Linked DNA regions of Homo sapiens: region 2 is linked to region 1. The links are contacts of gene promoters, found by promoter capture Hi-C in blood cells and fetal thymus (Javierre and others, 2016). All regions are on one chromosome and are shown on one strand. The core of a region is centred on a gene start or on the middle of the fragment in contact, and the rest is flanking DNA. Distances in the headings are between cores, read along the strand shown. Region 1 holds the start of NAP1L4 (nucleosome assembly protein 1 like 4). Region 2 overlaps KCNQ1 (potassium voltage-gated channel subfamily Q member 1).

Region 1 (6,684 bases), core at 1,528-4,027:
ACAACTAAAGGGAAGGAAGAAAAGCACTACTATATATACATACATATTTGAGGTCACCTCCTCCTGATGCTAGAGACTATCAACTGCTCAAAAGAAGGAAAACAAAATAAAGATTTCAGTCCCCACACTTAGCTGCGAATAGCTAACAAAGGGAATTAACATGCGGTCAATAACAAGAGGCTACTAAAAACTCTGACAGGTTAGGAAGTTTTCATTTCAGTTTCAAATTCAAATTCATACTGTAAAGTGGTGATGAACACATCCCATCCGCAGGTACTTAACCTCCATACAAATAAGAACTACCTCTCATATGGGCAAAAAGATCAAAATTCTACAGAAGAATCTGATGGCTAAATGGCTAATTTGCAAAACACAATGCCCTGTACATTTTGAGGACATCCTAAAACATGTGTAAACTTTTCAGAATTCAGTTTACCAAAGTTATCAAACTTAAAAATGATTAAAATTTATTTGCTACTGCAAAGAATTCAACCAATTTCTCCAATGACTACTCCATATTCATTTTGAAAAACAGTACCGGATTTAAAGCTTACACAACAAAATTCACAAAAGTGTTATATGTGCCTATATGACATATAGGCACAAATAACTGCAGACATTCTGAAGCTAACACTGCTCAACCAGGAAAAAAAAAAGACTGCAATTGGATATGTAATAACAGCTATTTAAGACGGCAGTAACGTGTTAAAATGGTTCATAAAAATCACATCATAAGGCCCTGAAATTCTAGTAAAAATATCTCTAAGTAAACTTGTGAACTACTACTAAATAACTAATTTTCTCTCTCTCTGTAGTCACTCATTTTATCTTTGGATTACTTTCCCATTCTATCACCACGTTGCTTTCTCTGAACTTCATTTTACATTTGCATATTATTTATTCCATTAGCAATTGCTCATCCCAGTCTGAATCTCAAAATTCTACTATAGGAGGCATTTGGCATTCTGTGGAATAAGAGAATTTTGAGATGGAAATGATCAACCAGCTCAAAACCTCGTAAGCTAGAGTTCAGTTAAGCTTAGCACAATGATGAAAACAATTTCTCATTAAAACTTCTTTCATTCCCTCTACAGAAGCAGTAACCCTGGGTACAGTTAAAACTGCCTGGGTCTTTAAGCTTTGTCACCTCGGACAAGTCATTATACCTAACCTCCCAGGGCCTCAGCTTCCAGAGTAGTTAAATGGAAAAACAATAGCATCTATCTCAGGTTATTAGATTATGAAATGAGTTAACACACGCAAACAGGCTGAAAGAGTCCCTGGTGCGCAGTGCAGGTATTAGTCATTTAGAGGTATAGTTACTATTACAGGAAGGTAGTAACTTAGAAAGACTTACCTTTAAGGTCCAACAACCTAATCTACATATTTGTATATTTCTAAGGTAAGAGAATTTTTAAAAGTCTATTTTCACCCCGTAAACCTAATGCAGGAGGATAAGGCACGGGTTACTACAGGAAAAAGTAATGCAGACTGGGGGATGCGAACCAAAGCACAGACGAATGTGCCCCGACGATTCCTCCGAGAACATAATGAAATGGCGGACCTTCCTGCCAGAGGAGCGCACAGTCACCCAGGCAGGTGATGTGACACACACGTTAGGGTCTAAAGGTCCCAAGGCTGGAGTCCCCTTTACTGGACCCTAAACATGTCTGCCTCCTGCCCCGCAATCAGACTTAGAGAACTGTGGACGGTGGAAAGTCTTATCATGACCAGGCCATCCTTCGCTGGGGTGAACGGAAAGCATTCAGAAGGGGAAAATTGAAAACAACAAAGACTCTGGTCAGGTCAAAAAATACAAATGTGACCTCTTCCACCATCTCTGAACTGAAAGAAAAGCATGGCACTTTCCCATCCATAACATGTACAATTTTTTTTTTTGGAGATTTTGCTTTTCCCTTGTGAAAGACGGTTTTAAATAGTAAACAGACTTGCTGCCCACCTTGGCTGGGAAACCAAGTCCCGTGAGTAACTAGTCTAAGGCCACTCAGGCCAGTCCTCGGGGAGCGCACGCCGCCCAGCTCGCTCCCACCGCACAGCTCCCAACAGCTAAGAAGCAACGCCAAGGACTTTCTTCCCCGTCAGACATGCCCTCGGCCACACCAAACTGACATCAAAACCCCAGTTAGCCCAGCCTGACCCCACAGAGGCTCACGATGACAACCGCCCTACGGAAAAACTCAAATTCCTAAACATCTAATAAAGAAGTCCTGGACGTCTCCACCTTAAAAACGGGAAGCCTGAACGCTCCGGCGCGCCCGGCCGTGTAACCGCCACAGCCCCCGCACGCGGGGCGGGCTGGGCTAGCGGGAGATTTGAGCGGCCGCCGCCTCTCGCCGTCTTCGCCTCCTCCAAGGGGCCGCCGCCCAGGAGGCCGCCCGCGGCGCAGAACAAAGCGCCTTGACCTTCAGTGAGGCGGGCAGCCGGGCGAGGCGCGCCGGGAGTTGGGAGGGGCCTCCCGCCAGCGCCCCAGGCCCGGGCTCCAGGCCCCAAGCCCCAGGCCCCGCCGCGGCCGCCGCTGCCTGCCCCGACCAGAACGCGGCCCCGCCCCTGCCCCACCGCCCCGAGGCTTCCAGAGATGGCCGCCGCCGCGCCCGCGCCGGACCCGCGGCCCCACCCGCCCGTCCGGGCCCGGCCGCCCTCCCCAGCGCGCCGTTACCGGCCCAGCACCCGTGTCTCCGCACCTCACGCCTCCTGCGGCAGTGGCGGCGACCCTAGCTTCGCTCGCTTTGGGGCTGCGCCGCCGTGGCCTCCAACAACGCCGGCTCCCATTGGCCGAGGCTCCTAGCTCCTCTCTCCGCGAGCAAGACAGGCTGCGATTCGCCGAGCGCGGCGCAAGTCAACTGCGCTTCGCGCCGCAGTCAGCAACCAATCACAAGCCTCCGAAGAAACGCCGCGCCATATGCAAATATTCCTCCGCGCGGCGCGCGCCCTGCGTTCCTCCGCCTCTTTAAATGGGGCGGGGCAAGGTGGAGACCGCGTGTGTGGTTCCGGGGGGTCCCGGGTCCCCGCTCCCGGGACCTTCCCCGGGTGGCACCACATCCTCGCGGGACACTGGGCACCACCCCTCTCCGTGGGCCCCGGCCCCAGCCGTCTTTATCTCCTGCGCCCTCCCAGTTCCCTAGTTCAATCCCGTCCGCGGCGGGTCGGTGCCTCCAGCACTCCGTGCGCCCGCTGATGTGAGAACCCCACCTCCCATGTCGTCCCCTCGCGCTACTCCTTGAGAACATCGCGGAGGGCCCCTCCGCCTGGGAGCCGTTTTCAACCAGCCCCGTTAGTGGTTGGGACGTAAGCCTAACCCCCGCTCATCCCCCAGGTCCCAGGTTGGAGAACACTTCCTCTGCGAAGAGGTCGGGGCTGGGTCACCTCCGCGGACAGGACGGGACTAGCCACTGCCTGCATCTCTTCCCCCACGCCCTGAGCCCCGCAGTGTCCCAGCAGCCTAGTTCTGGCCTGCGGGAGACCCTGTCGGACAAGGAGGAAAAGCAGTGCGCACTGGGCCCTCAGATCAGCCCCCTGAAGCAGAGCAGGGCAGAGGGCTGGGGAGGAGCTGGCCTGTTTCGCCCGCCCTGTTCTCCCTCTCATGGTGCCCTCTGGGCTGGGGTGAAGGTACCAGCCCCAGCCTGTGCACATCACATTTTGTAGAAAGGCATCCAATTTGATTGGAAAATAACCCCTACGCTGGGACTTTTGAGGCTGGTTCATTTCCATGTTCAACCGTGCCATTGGGGGTCTTCAAGTCTAATGTGCATTTTTTTCAGAAACGTTCTCTTTTGGGATGACGTTACTTTTGAAACAATTGCTAATTATTATTATTATTAGCAAGTTATTCCTGTAATGGGGAAAATTTGAAACCATTTAAAGGCTCCTGGTTGAGGGATTAAGAACATAGCGTCGGTTATAAACCTCAGAGGTAAGCTGGGAGGCTGAGGCAGGAGGATTCCTTGAGCCCAGAAATTCAAGTCCAGCCTGGGCAACATAGTGAAACCTCATCTCTAAAAAGAAATTAATGCGGAGCGCCGTGGCTCAGGCCTGTAAACCCAGCACTCTGGGAGGCAGAGGCAACAAGTCCAGCCTGGGCAACATAGAGCACCCTTCCCCTGCTCCAAAAACAACAACAACAAAAAATTACCCAGGCGTGGTGGCTCAGGCCTGTAATACCAGCTACTTGGGAGGCTGAGGTGGGAGAATTACCTGAGCCCGTGAGGTCAAGGCTGCAGTGAGCAGAGATTGGGCCACTGCACTCCAGCCTGGGTAACCAGAGGGGGACATTGTCTCAAAAAGACAAAAAAAAGGCCGGGCGCGGTGGCTCAAGCCTGTAATCCCAGCACTTTGGGAGGCCGAGGTGGGCCGATCACGATGTCAGGAGATCGAGACCATCCTGGCTAACACGGTGAAACCCCGTCTCTACTAAAAATACAAAAAAATTAGCCGTGCATTGTGGCGGACGCCCTAGTCCCAGCTACTCGGGAGGCTGAGGCAGGAGAATGGCGTGAACCCGGGAGGCGGAGCTTACAGTGTGAGCCGAGATCGCACCACTGCACTCCAGCCTGGGCGACAGAGCGAGACTCCATCTCAAAAAATAAAAAATAAAAAAAAAACTAATTAAAACAAAAAACATAAAAACCCCTCAGAGGTGACCGGTGCATGGCTGAGGCCTGACCCACACAGCGTGCTCAGTCCTGTCTGGCCATCTGTGTTTTAGGAGAGGGTGTGTGTGCTCTCAATTCCTATTTTACTTATTTAGACTTTCAGACTTTTCTACAAAGGTCATGCTTTATGCTTTGCGGAAGCATAAACAATGATAGAAATGACACAAGAACCTGGGCATTTGAAGTTTGGAGGGTCCTTCCTCCCATCTAATAAAGTCTCAAGACCATTTGCAGTAATGGGATCCCCCTGCTCCTGGATGTTGGGGTTGGTGGGGGTGGCATCCGGGTGGGTGGATCCTCTGAGGGAGCTGGGCCTTGGGGCTGGGGGCAGCTGGACCTGCTCCCTGGGAGATCTGCTGGAACTGGAATGATTGTGGTGGTGGTGTTTTTCTCTTGGTGGTTGGTGGTTTCTCTCCTTGGAAGATTCTCATTTGGAAATAGAGTCTTCACAGATGCAATTAGGTAATGAGGTCGAGTGGGCAGATTGCTTGAGCCCAAGAGTTCGAGACCAGCCTGGGCAACATGATGAGATCCCATCTCTACCAAATATCTAAAAATTAGCTAGGCATGGTGGTGCATCTATAGTCCCAGCTGCTTGAGAGGCTGAGGTGGGAGGATCACTTGTGCCTGGGATTTAGAGGCTGCAGTGAGCTGTGATCATGCCACTGCACTCCAGCCTGGGTGACAGAGCAAGACCAAGACCCTGTGTCAAAACAAAGAAGTCCCCAGATGACACTGACATGCAGCCAGAGCTGAGGGCCACTGGGATCAGGACTCCCAGGGTAGCTGGCGCTTGGTGAGTTTCATTCCTGTTTTCCCAGCGCTGCCTCTGCCAGGCCTCAGGCATGAGCCCACCTGTCTACAACCCCTCTGCTGCCTCAGCCTCCTCCAACCTGGAGATCAAGAGTCCCCTCCAGAGGCTACCTTGCCTGTAGTTCTGCTCTTGGCTGCCTTGTCCTCACTGAGGCTCCGGGAGACAGTCCCGGACAGACACCACGTGTTTCTTCTTCACATTGCCAGCACCCGGAAAAGTGCCTGGCACTTGGCGAGCTGTGCCCTTACCTGGGCGCTACTGACAATGGCTACACCTTGGCCTGGAAGTAGAGGCAGCAATCACTGCCCCATTCAACAGAGGAGAAAACAGAGAAACCCCTCTAACGCCCCCAGCTAAGTGGCTCTGGCCCTGGAGGGGGCGGCCATGCCCTTCACCTGTGGTGGGGGCGCTACTCCTCAAAAGACCTCGCAGCCGCCAAGAGCTGGAGCCGAGGCCTCAGAAATGCCCAAAGCCCCCTCAGTAGGCTGGGGGCTCAGCCTGTGGGGCATTAACAAAGTGGGGCCCTGGAGACATCCAAGAGAGGTGGCTGGTTTCTCCTGGTATATGGAGAACAGAAAACACCCATGGCGTACTCCACACAAGAGGGGTGCGCAGACAGGGAGTGCCTTTGCAAGCTTCCCGGCCTCAGAAAGAAGGCATCTGGAAGACTGTACCCCAAATGTTGTAGGGATTTGAGAGGTAGGGCACGGGGTCTTTCAGTTTCTACTTTATATTGGAAGTTTTCCGTATTATTTATTTTTAAATAATGAATACATGACGTTTTTATAGTAAAGACACCAAAGATTGCTCTTTGGGGAAAAACAGGAAGATGTAAATCTGGCTCTTACAGCTGAACAGAGCTTTCATGTACAGAAAAGAAACACTTTCCACAGGCAAACTAATATTATACAAGAAAAGTGTCCACCCCACGTTGTTCCAGAAGGATCTGCTGCAGCCTGACAGCAAGAGATTGCAGGGTAGGGAGGTGCTGGGGTCCTCTTGGGGGCCAAGCCAATGGCCTGGGCCCAGCCAGCCTATTGTCACTGCAGGCCCTCGGACCCAGCCTGGGGAGACTGGAGGAAGTCAGGGAAGGGCAGAGAGAAGGCGCACCGGGCAGTGGGCCCTCAGAACGGGGAAACTCCAGGCAGAAAAGCGGCCCAGAATCACTCTGAATTGGGGGGCGTGAAACAGGGGCCACAG
Region 2 (6,684 bases), core at 3,915-6,414, 470 kb before region 1:
AAGGGGATCACGAGGTCAGGAGATCAAGGCCATCCTGGCTAACACTGTGAAACCCCATCTCTACTAAAAATACAAAAAATTAGCCCGGCGTGGTGGCGGGCGCCTGTAGTCCCAGCTACTCGGGAGGCTGAGGCAGGAGAATGGCATGAACCCGGGAGGCAGAGCTTGCAGTGAGCCGAGATTGCGCCACTGCACTCCAGCCTGGGCGACAGAGCCAGACTCCGTCTCGAAAAGAGACTTGGGCTAGATGTGAGGAGGGACTTTCCCAAGTAGGGATGAACCCTGAGGACCCACACCCTGAGCCGCCAGTGGGTCGTGTTGACCTGGCAGCTCCAGGGCACCTGAGGCCTTCGCTGTCCTTCCGCACCTCGCCCCCTTCCCGAGTGGAGGTGCTCTGGGAGCTCTGCCTGCTTCCTCAAGTCTTTCTTGTTTTTTTATGTTATTTTATTTTAGATTTGAGGAGTACACATACTTGTCTGTTACGTGCGTAATGGTGGGGTTTGGGCTTCTCGTGCGCCCATCAGCCGGATATTGGACGTTATACTCAATAGGTAATTTTTCAACCCTCCCCCTCTCACCCTCTCCACCTCCCCTTTGGAGTCCCAGAGTGACCTTTCTCCGTCTTTCTGTCCAAGCATCCCATCTGTCTAGCTTCCACTCATGAGTGAGAACGTGCCGTGTTTGGTTTTCTGTTTCCGGTAGTTCACTTAGGATCATGGTCTCCAGATCCATCCGTGTTGCTGCAAAGGACATGATTTCATTCACTTCTTGGAGGCTTTAACGCCTGCCCTGTGTGAGGGAGGGCGGAGCCCCTGGCCCAGGGGCGGGGAGGCCTGTCCACCCCTCCCACCCGTCCCCGAGGCCCCTGCTGCCCAGCAAGACCACCACCCTCTGCTCCAGGACAGCGCAGCCGCCATCAGTGGGGGTGAGGGGACAAGGCTGCTGGGACCAGGCCTCGCCCAGGCAGAGCCTCGCCATTTCTGGGGTGGGGGGTGCACAGGTGCATCTGGTCTGCCCAGCCCCTCCTCACCCTAGGCAGGCCTCTCACAGAGACAAGACGAGTGTCCTAGGGCAGATAGGGCCACATCCATGGGGTCACTTCAGTTTGTCCTCCCGGCGCCTTCTAAATATACTCTCTGTGGGTGTCTTATCACAGCCCAGGGAGCCAGGCTTGGTGTGGCCGGCCCTGGGAGCACAGAGCCCCGTTCCCAGCAGCCCTCGGCCCTGGGGGGCTTGTGCTCTGCCGGGCCACCTGCACCCTCCGGGCCCCAGGAGAAGCTCATGCCTTTCCTGCTTGCACCCCAGAGCCTGGCCACCCCTGTCCTCTGCTGAGGCCCTGACCACCTCTATGTGTGCCATGGCTGCAGTGACAGCCCAGACCCCAGGGGCCGGGCATCCCACAGCTCTCCTCACTGAGCCCCTGGGCCTATCCGCCCACGCCCAGGCCAGGGCTCCTGCTGGAATCTCCCTGTGGAAGGCCAGGCTGCCTGGATGCCCACCACTCCAGGCTTACTTCTGGGTTGTAGTTTTCGGGGTGCTTCGAGGTGCTGTGGGGACCTGTGATGCTGTCAGGGAGACCCGGAGTCCAGTTCTCGCCAACCGCTCGATGCTGTGTGACTTGAGGCAGGTCCCTTAACCTCTCTGAGCTTCCTCCTCTCCTGTGAACAAAGGATGGGTCCACTTCTCAGGCTTCTCATGAAGTTTAGAGGCGACAGGAGGAGGTGGGCTTTAAATGGCTCAGTCCCAGCGTCCCCTCATGCCTGGGACCGCTGACCCACCGGGATTCTTGGGGGCCACCATAGAGCCTGTTTTTAAAGGGGATGTGGCGGCCAGCTCTGGGGGCACACGTTCCTGTTTGAATTCTCAATCTCCGGGCTCAAAATTGGCCCCCAGAAAGCCTTTGAGATGGACAGGGAGCTGGACCTTCCCAATTCGGTTGCCCTTGCTTGATGTTTACATGCCACTGTTGGGTGCTCCTGATTGTGTAGCGGGTCCCCTGAAACCAACACACAGGTGCAGACACCCACATGCCATCCTGCCAGAGCCCTGGGTTCTCAGCAGGACTCTTTGCCGGGATCCTCATGCTACGGCCACCACCTGATTTTGTCGATAAAGTTTTATTAGGACACAGCCATGCCCGGCCGAATATTGCCACAGAGGCCACCTGCCCCACCACGCCTAGGACATTTCCTCTCTGGCCCAGAGGTGTGCCAGGGCTGCACTGGGCTCTTCTGGTGGGGAGGGACATTGTTCTGGCCCCTCCTGATCTCTCCCCCACCTTGCCACGACCCCCCAGAGTTTGCCTGGTGTCACCGGGAAGCTTCCTGGCTGCCCGAGGGTCCCCCAGCACCTGTCCCTCTAGGGCCTCTGAAGGGCTTTGACGTGACACTCGGGATGGCATGGCAGGGCCCTCAAGCACGGCTGTGTTCACCCCCCAGGCTGCTCCTGGAAAGGAGGGATCAGGGCCCAGGCTCCACGCTCCGCACTGAGGTGTGGTCGAGGGCCCTGGGCGTCCGGGTGAGATGGGAATGAGCCCTTGGTAGGTGCCAGGCGGGGCCAGCCCTCATCCCCACTGCAAGGCCTGAGCGTCCAGGAGCCCCGTGCGCAGCTGGACCCATCAGTCCCCACCCTGCAGGGCCGTTGAAGAGGGAATGCACACCTGTCACCTCTTGGTGCGGGGGCATCCAGGTTCCTGGCGATGGGGATGGGGTGAGATGCACCTGATGGACCTCCAGGTGGGAAGCTCCTGGGACACCCTGGAGGGCTCTGGTGGGAGACATGGCATTCTGTCTGCACCGAAGGGGGCTCAGGGCTGAGAAGCCCTGGGACGGGTTGGATTTGGGGCGCGTTCCCCAGGGCCCCACGCGTGTTGAGTCCCCGCTGCGTCACTGTCTGGCCTGTGGCGCCTCACCTCTCTGTCTGGCAGGACTCAGGCAGAATGGAAGTAAAGGCAGGACCTTGTCCCAGGACATCCAGGCATGTGGCGTGGCAACCAGGTGGGATGGCAGGGTTTCCCCCTGGCAGGATCCCCACCTCCTGCACCTGTCCTGACTTGGTCTTCTGGGGCAGCCCCTAAGACGCTTCTTCAGGGAAGAGGGACCGGTTTGGCCAGTGGGACCATGGCCCTGGGAGCATATGCCTGCACGTCCTGCCCGCTCACACCTGCCTGCTGGGGGGGCCATGCCTGCGCCCGCAGCTCACGTCAGAGCCCACCCCAGGAGGCTCCCAGCGATCTGTCAACCTGTGCTGTTGGCATGCAGCCTGGGGGTGAGGGGTGGCGGAACGCTGCCTCAGTACCACGTCCTGCTCAAAGGCCACTTGCGAGCTAGGCTGAGCCTGTGGTGTGCGGTGGGATAGGAAGGAAAAGAACAGAGTCTAAGGAGCCTAACTCACTTCCAGATTCACCCGGAGGCCTGCATGGAGGAGGCGGCACTGAGACTTCATTCACCGAGCTTGAGGGTTTACCCTAACATTCATTCACACCATCAGTCATTCAGCAAACACTTCACAAACGTGCATCCCACGCCTGGCACTGGGCCTTCGGAGGGAGGGAATGCAGCTGGTGGGCCCCTGCCTGGGGAGCCCCTGCTCTGGTCGGGGAGGCAGTGGTGGCAGTGGCTGCCTGGCGGTCCATGAACTGGTGCAAGCCAGAGCCGGAGGCCTCCTGAGAGCCTGGCAGGGAAGCCCAGGCCAGGGCCTCCGCAGAAGGAGGGTTTGGGGTCCAGGCTTCATGTGGGGGGTCTTGTAACATGGGAGGGTAGACGCTGCCTTGGGACAGGAGAGACAGAGGCGGGGGGACCAGGGGAGTGGGCTGCAGTTGGGGTGCAGGCCTGGTGGCCCCGGCAGGGGGACCAGCCTCTGGGGAGGTGCTGCAGGCACAGGAGTTCTGTGTGGACCCAGCCGAAAGCTGGCAGGAAGGGACCTGTTTCTTGGGGTTCCCAGTCCAGATCTGTGTTGGAAAAAGTGTCAGCTGAAACCCCAAGAGGCTGGGGACAGCCTTGGTCCTGCTGTGGGACACAGGTTTAATCTCCAGATGGCTCCTGGATAGGCGGGCTGGCGGCTCTGTCTAACGGGGACAGCACACTTGGGGCTTCGGGAGACAATGAGGGCAGAAATCTTACCCACCGGCCACACCAAGTCACCCATTGTTGTGTCCCTTGGGCTGGGATCCCATGGCTTTCAAGAACTTTTTAAAGAAATGAGACTCAGCTGCCGCGGAACAAGCCACAGGTAAAGAGTATAAGACAGCGTGAGGCATGGGGTGGCCACGGGAGCCCTGGGCCAAGGAGGCCCAGTCTGGTGGGGAGGCGTCCATTCACCCGGAGCTGGACGGGGAGGACCAGGCTGTGGGTCTGTGAAGCGGGTGTGGGATCACATCCACGCTCCTTCTGTGGTTTGTGCCCTGTTGTGGCTGCCAGGGGAGGGGCTTCCAAGGCCCTGCCAACCAGCTGGGCAGTGTGGACAATGGCAGACAGGGTGCTGTGTGGGGGCCTGAGGGGCAATGGTTGGGGGGCAGCTGTTGCCGTTCTGGTGAGAAGTGGCGGTCCCTGAAGGGCTGGGGTGCTAGGGAGCCTCATGGACCTACTCCCGACGTGGCAGCTGCCTGCTGCAGATGGGCCAGCCATGTCCCGCCTGTGCCGGGAATCACCACCCCCAGCTCCCTTCTCTCCAACATGACAGGGTTCGGGTGATGCCCTGTGGGCTGAATGGTGAGAGAGGCGTCCCTGTGCTGACACCAGTGGGCGTGGACGTGACCCTCTTTTTAAAAGAATTTTTTCAGATGCAATTCCATTAAGGATCTGGAGGTGAGAGGATGAAAAGGAAACTCTGAGCTTTGAGTACATTTTTAATTATGTTTTAAAAATTAAGACATGAGGCCGGGCATGGTGGCTTACGCCTGTAATCCCAGCACTTTGGGAGACTGAGTTGGGAGGATCGCTTGAGCCCAGGAAATCGAGGCTGCAGTGAGCCAGGATCATACCACTGTCCTCCAGCCTGGGTGACAGAACAAGACTCTGTCTCAAAAACAAAACAAAACAAAACAAAAAACCAAAAAACAACAACAACTAATATATGTTTTTGACCAATACCTAATTCTGTTGTTTAAGAATTCAAAATCTACCAATAGTGATCATAAGTAATGTATTAAATACTTACATAGTACAGCAGGTGTTGGCCCCCCCCCACAACATTGGTTTCCATCCCTGGAAGCTGCAAATGTGACCTGACATAGAAAACACCCCTTTGCAGCTGAGGCTGAGGGTCCCGAGAGGCGTGATTGCATTATCCAGGGGGCCCAAGTCCAGTGACACGTGTCCTCCTAAAAGACAGGACAGATTCAACAAAGGAGGATCCGGCCACATGCTGCACAGCACGGGAGTGATGCCGCCACCCACCCAGGACGCGGGAGCCCGCAGAGGCTGGAAGGCTGAAAAGGGCCCTGTCGCCCCCACCCCCCAGGATGACGTATGGCCTGATGTGGCATTCCTGCCTCAGGACCATGGCACCAAGTGGTGGCGCTGGGGCCCCTGGAGTCGGCCAGTCTGGGCACGTCCCATGCTGTGTCTGAGCCTCAGTGTCCCCATCGATTGGTAGTGCCTCCTGAACCCCAATCCAGGGGGCTTCTGGGGGGCAGCCTGGGACCAGACGTGCCTCACCAGGGCTTCTGTCTCCTCACCAGGACTTCCATGATGTGACACCTTCCACATGGGGTTCAGAGCGGGGAACCTGTGCCTAGTGTCCAGCCCAGCGTGGGGCCCTCGGTGTGGGCCAGGGCTCACCCCTTTGGGAGGGGTCGGGAGATGCCTGGCCCAGGCTCCATCCATGCAGAGCCAGGAAGCAGGTGAACCTGTGGGGACCTTGGCGACCTCCAAACCCTGCTGAGGCTGCCTGCTGACAGCCACTGGTGAGGGGGGTGACAGCCACTGGTGAGGGGGGTGACCAGCTGGTAGCTTTTTCTGAGGTGCAGATTCAGCCCTGGGGAACAGCCCTGGCAGGCTGTGAGACCTCTGCCCCTGGGCGTCCACATCCCAGGGCTCTGAGCTCAGCAGCCCTGGAGCCGGCAGCCACATCAGGGATGGAGGGAGACCTGCTGGTGACCAGTGAGTGAGCAGGGGAAGCCTGTCCTCTCCAGCGCCCAGTGTTTCCTTCCTGGGGCACATGGGATTTGGAGGCATTTGGAGTCTCCCAGGATGACTTTTTTTTTTAAGCCCCTAGAAGTGGTTTGGGGTTTAAGCGTCAATATTTAATCTCTTGAAGTTACACATTCAAGGCCCTATCCTGCCTTCGGCTTTAGGTTCGCTTCACAAACCCATTGTCTGCTTATCAGCCTGGCGAGGTCCCGTCCCCAGTAGGGGTCTTTGAACATTGCTCGATCTCATTCACCAGCCACGGGGAACATTTTGAACCCTCTGATGCTTGCTCTATGAATGTTGTTTGCTTTAAAAAAAGTTTTTTTTTTATTGTGATAAAATACACATAACACACAATTTACCGTCTTAACTCTGTGTCAGGTCACGGCCCAGTGGCAATAGGTACATTTACATGGTTGTGCAACCGTCACCACCATCCACCCCAAAACTTCTCTCCCAAACTGAAATTCTGCACCCATGAAATCCCACTCCCTCTCCCCGGCCCCGCCATCCTGCTCTCCGCAACCGTGGATCCGTCCTCCCCATGTCCACA

What was found. Contacts are between HindIII fragments. The CHiCAGO score rates a contact against its expected background, and 5 or more counts as called.
Region 2: a fragment that was not itself captured here is called in contact with the fragment with the promoter of NAP1L4 in region 1 in 6 of 17 cell types (naive CD4 T cells, monocytes, non-activated CD4 T cells and 3 more); the score reaches 9.1 in naive CD4 T cells.

Annotation. Positions count from the first base shown.
Region 1 is chr11:2,989,552-2,996,235 of GRCh38, forward strand. It overlaps NAP1L4 (nucleosome assembly protein 1 like 4), which reads right to left and starts at 2,778. Exons shown (of 16, transcript NM_005969.4): 1 at 2,703-2,778. RefSeq lists enhancers at 1,347-2,203, 2,748-3,042. The HindIII fragment of the contact is 4,981 bases long and covers 1,137-6,117 here.
Region 2 is chr11:2,514,598-2,521,281 of GRCh38, forward strand. All of the region lies in intron 1 of KCNQ1 (potassium voltage-gated channel subfamily Q member 1), which reads left to right. Among named protein-coding and RNA genes, the nearest start is that of KCNQ1, 73 kb to the left of the region's middle. RefSeq lists enhancers at 5,114-5,615, 5,616-6,115. The HindIII fragment of the contact is 5,693 bases long and covers 2,319-6,684 here.